2 separate regions of the Homo sapiens genome follow, and region 2 is linked to region 1. The links are contacts of gene promoters, found by promoter capture Hi-C in human tissues and cell types (Jung and others, 2019). All regions are on one chromosome and are shown on one strand. The core of a region is centred on a gene start or on the middle of the fragment in contact, and the rest is flanking DNA. Distances in the headings are between cores, read along the strand shown.

The links. Contacts are between HindIII fragments. The study calls those that stand out against the background at their distance.
Region 2: a contact is called between a fragment that was not itself captured here and the fragment with the promoter of PTGFRN in region 1, in 1 of the 25 tissues and cell types used here (aorta).

Annotation. Positions count from the first base shown.
Region 1 is chr1:116,908,645-116,911,181 of GRCh38, forward strand. It overlaps PTGFRN (prostaglandin F2 receptor inhibitor), which reads left to right and starts at 1,272. Exons shown (of 9, transcript NM_020440.4): 1 at 1,272-1,608. The coding sequence starts at 1,560. The HindIII fragment of the contact is 8,899 bases long and covers 1-2,537 here.
Region 2 is chr1:116,871,339-116,873,875 of GRCh38, forward strand. No RefSeq gene overlaps it. Among named protein-coding and RNA genes, the nearest start is that of PTGFRN, 37 kb to the right of the region's middle. The HindIII fragment of the contact is 5,519 bases long and covers 1-2,537 here.

The sequences.
Region 1 (2,537 bases), core at 22-2,521:
GAAGACAAAACAAATAAAAACTCCTGGCCTCAAGCAACACCATCCCTGCCCCCCGCCTCCCCCTGCCCCCCCAACCTCAGCCTTCTGAGTAGCTAGCATTACAAGTACCAGTTACCAGGCCTGGCAATTTTAAACATTTCTAAGTGTACCATTCAGTGGCATTAAGTACAATAACGTTGCACCACCAGGAATGAATTTTTAAGTCTCTTTCCAAAGATACCTGGCTAATCACACATTTGATAGTGGGGAAATAAGAAACATTTGTTGGTTGAAAGACGGATGCATGAGAGTAAAAGCAGTGTTCTTCCCCAGTGTGGGCAGTTTCCGCATAAGCATCTGCGATCCGTTTTGCATGTGAATGAAAGCCCAGTGACGGGCAGTGGGCACCAGTGCTGCTCCTTGCGTGTTTGAATCATGCTTGCTAAGTTTCAAGCAAGGAATGCTCCATTTCTCCCAACCAAGTCGGGCCTTTTGTATTCAAATCAAAAGCACAAAACTCTATTGTAGGGGGAAAAATGAGTCTTTATTGGCAATCAGTGGTGTCCACTTAGAGCAATAAATATTAAGTCTTAAGAGTACATTCTATATGAAGTACTATAGCTATTAATACACTTGGGTTTTGTTTGTTTTTTAAATGGGTGTCTTTGTGGGGTGCTGTTCTAATCAGTGCCACAGGCGCCGAGGAGAGGGAGGGAGCTGGGTAAGGAAGGAGACAGGCCCACCCTAGCCACCGGGGAGTGGGCAGAGTCAGGAGAGCGGGGTTCTGATTTTGCCCCTTCCCTGTGAATCCTTGGGCACCTCACCGAAACACTTAAGGCCTCTGTATGGTAGAGGTTGGAATCCGTGGCCTTTAAAAGTCCTTTCAGCTCCTTCGCTCCTATCTGCATAATTTTTGGCATAGGCCAAGCGGCTGGTTGGTGGGGTGTTTAGCTCAGGACGAGAGGCCGAACGAGCGGGGAGTTGGCTGAGGATAGACTAGACACGCGTGGGTGACTCCAGCGTGATGGAACGCGGGGTGTCCCGGGATAGGGCTAAAGCGATGGGATTTCCAGACGAGTCTTTCCCAGGCCAACTTTTAAAGGTCGGAGGAAAGTTTCTCGTGGGGTGGGGGCCCAGAGGGGATGGCAGGGTGGGCTCCGACGCCTCCTCGCCTTTAAGCGGGTGGCCCCGGCTCTTCCTCCGTTACCTGGAGCGGGGAGGGGCTTGGGAAAGTTTGTGTTTGTTGCTGGCAAAGCGCCGGATGGGAGGCGCGGGCGGGCGCTGCGGTTCTTCCCTTCTGCTTTCGGGAAGCGGTCGGGGCTGCACACTCGGATCGGCGGGGCCGGCTCCCGGGCCCGGCCGGCTGGAGGAGGGAGGGAAGGAGGCGGGAGGGAGCGAGCGGAGCCAGGGGCGCACGTACGCCCCAGCGCTGGGATTTATCGGCTCGCGAGGAGAGCGGAGCAGGCGCGCGGCCCAGGCGGAGGAGCGCCGACTCTGGAGCAGCCGGAGCTGGAAGAGGAGGAGGAGGAGAGGCGGCGGGGAAGGAGGAGGAGGGGGAGAGTCGCTCCCGCCGGGCGAGCATGGGGCGCCTGGCCTCGAGGCCGCTGCTGCTGGCGCTCCTGTCGTTGGGTGAGTGTGCGCGGGGCTCAGCGGGGCACACGGGGACTGGCGAGGCCCTGGAGGGCTCGGCGGGGCGCGGCTGCAGCGCGCGGCCTGGGGCGCCGAGGGTGCCCGGGCTGCTCCCGGGAAACCCGGCCGGGGTGCGCGGGTTGTTCGGCCCGGCGGGGAGCGGCCGCGGGGCCGCCCGGAGCCTGGCGCGAATCCGCTCGGGCCCCGCGCGCGGGGTGCAAGTGGCCGCTCCGCCAGGCCGAGCCTCGCCCCCAACATGTGCCGGGGGGAGTGGCCCGGGGCCGTCTTTCCCCCAGGTCTCCCTACCTGTTGGCCGCCGGGAGCCCGGCTCACCTTGAACTCCCGGCCCGGAAGGTGCTGCGGTCCCGGCCCGGGTCCTCGGCTCGAGAGCGGAAATGTGAGCCTTTGATATGCCCCGCCATAGCCGCCGCCGGCCGGGTCGCTCTTCACCCAACCCGCGCGGAGTTGCCTTTCCAGGGAAGCGAGAGAATCCTCCAACTTCCTTCCACGAAGGTCACAGGGTGGCCCGGAGCGTTACAATGGAAATCGGCGGGCGAGTCCTGCCGTCATTTTCGTCGTGGCTAGATCTTCTGCCTCAGTCTTTTCTTTTAGCTTTTCTTGAAGCTGCCTAGCTGCGTATTTATACACAAAGACCTAAAAGCCTGGCTTCTCCAACTTTTTCTACCTGTTACTTTCCCTCCCTTACTATCCCCTCGTCTTCCACCCTCCGGAAACCCTGGGTGCCCCGTGAGGTTTTGGCCCAGCGCCCTCCCCCCACCCAAGGAATCTTTTGTGGGTTTTTTCCCTCTCCATTTTCCATTCACTCCATACACAGACACCATCTTCACGTAGATCCACATGGTGATCCTAGCCAGCCACGGAAATATGTTTATTAAGTGCCCACCATGGTACCCCAGGGCCGACTCTTA
Region 2 (2,537 bases), core at 13-2,512, 37 kb before region 1:
TCACCAGGCTGGAGTGCAGTGGCATGATCTCGGTTCACTGCAACTTCCACCTCCCAGGTTCAAGCGAGTCTCCTGCCTCAGCCTCCCGAGTAGCTGGGATTACAGGCACTCGCCACGACATCCGGCTAATTTTTTGTATTTTTAGTAGAGATGGGGTTTCACTACGTTGGCCAGTCTGGTCTCAAACCCCTGACCTCATGATCCACCCACCTCAGCCTCCCAAAGTGCTGGGATTACAGGCGTGAGCCATGGCGCCTGGCGAGGCACCATCTTTAAAGATTAACTACCAGGGTATTCAGTGAATACTTGTGGGATGAAGGAAGGCAGAAAGGGAGGGGAGATGGTGGGAGGGAAGTAACTGGAAAATTTACAAAAAAGAAAATGAGGAAGGAAAGGAGACAGCAGAAAAGGAAGGAGAAAAGGAGATGTGGATTTCTGAATATGATGACAGTATTATAGCCCGGGAATAAAATCCATCCTTTCCTGCCTGACCCTTCTTTCCCATCTCCCTCAAGTTGCATAATAACCTGCTTGGAAGCAGAAATTCAACTAACGCCACATATCAGAACTGGAGCGCTCTTGGCAGAATCTTCTACAATTTATACCCCAAGTTCAAATTTAAGCCAAGGCATATTTCCAAGGAAAGAACAACACAGTACTTTATCTTGATGTTGCTCCTCACCCTTGGTGATTTCAAAGCAGGTTTATAAACAAGCGCTGTCATTGTGCAAGAGAGGAAATGGAAGGGAACTAGTAATATTTAGGTAACCAATAACAAAATCTTTGAGTCAATATTATAGTGAAATGATTAAGTAATTACGTGGAATCAGAGGCAGACTACAACTGCATCAAATTAATAAAGTAGAATTTGGAAGAAATAAGATATAAAAATTTCCACATAAAAACTGAAGTCAATTGAGGCTGTAAGGAGCTAGAAATTAAAAATAGATTTATACCAAACTAGGTAGAACAAAATTGAAACAGTTGTTGAGATATTAAAAATGGATTTGCTTTTAAAACCGTTTGGAATAGTTTAGTCATTTTCCAGAGCCATAGATATTCTGTGCCAGTTGAGCACTTTTTCCCAAACCAACCTGGCAGACGGTTGTCTAATCAGGAAGCTTTGCAGGCAAGTTCCTTGGCTAAAACCCATAGGAATAAATGAATTTGGGTTTCTAAAGTTCCAGTGTCTCAGTACAAAGAGAGATAGGTAACCCTTTTTCCTAGAGATACTGATGATGATATAAATTGTGGTATGACAGAATGCAAATTCCCTAAGCTTGGAATTCTCCTCTAACTGACATGTCACAGAATAAGATGGCATCATGTTTACTTCAATTTGTGGTCTCTCTAAACCACTTTGGTCTTTGGCCCCCAGATCTGCCCATTTCAGGGAAACTGGAGTAACTCAAAAAAGTAACTTGTCATGAATTAGTTAGGATTAGGTTTGGCAGCAGGATATTGAACTCTCCCTACTCCCCAACACCTTCACCTCCCTTAAAAAACAATAACAAAAAAAAAAACCAGTGGCTTAAACAACATGAAAGTTTATTTCTCTTTCATATAAGCCTGAATAGGTAGTCCACAGATGGTAAAGGGCTCCACAGTGCAGGGAATCAGATTTTTTTTATTTTTATTTTTCTGCCTTAACTGCATAATCTCCACTTCCTAAATCATCCTATCGTCCAAAATGAATGCTTGAGCTCCATCCCGCATATCCCATTCCATCCAGGAGAAAGAAGAAAAAGGTAGAGAGCAGGAAAAGCTCCCTGCCTTTAAGAACACTTTCCAGAAGTTGCTCACACTACTTCTACTTACATCTAACTAACCAAACGTTAATCCCATGACCGGGAGAGAATCAAGAAGACTGGGAAGCAGTCCTTCTAGCAGCAGGTGCCTAGCTAAACATTTAAGGTCCTAATACTTTAAAATAGAAGAAAACAAATGTTGTGAGACAATTAAACAGTCTCTCTGCTACAGTTTATCCCTTTGGCCTCCCCAAATATATGGGCATCCCCATGTAGGACACAATCCCTCCTCAAGGGGAAGAAACCCAGGGACTGCCTCCAGATCAAAGTCAAGATCTCTGAGTGAAGTGTAGTCTCCGTCTTCAAATCCAGATATGATGTTCACAATCTTGCAAGCTGTTTTAGTCTGTTCAGGTTGCAATAACAAAATACCTTAGACTGTGTACTTTATAAATAATATAAATTTATTTCTTACAATTCTGGAGGTTAGGAAGTCGAAGATTAAGGCACCAGCAAATTTAGTGTCTGGTGAGGGCTCTCTGCCTCGAAGATGGCACCTATTGCTGAATTGTCACATGGTGGGAGGGCAAAAAAGGGCCAGACTCCCTTCAGGCCCTCTTATAAGGGTACTAATTTCATTCGTGATGTCGTCACCTGCTGAAGACTACCCCCCGACCCCTTACTATGATGACATTGGGGATTAAGTTTCAACATGAATTTTGGAGGAGCCATATTCAAACCATAGCACAAACCATAAACTAAAAGATTAGTTATCTTTCCCATAACCCA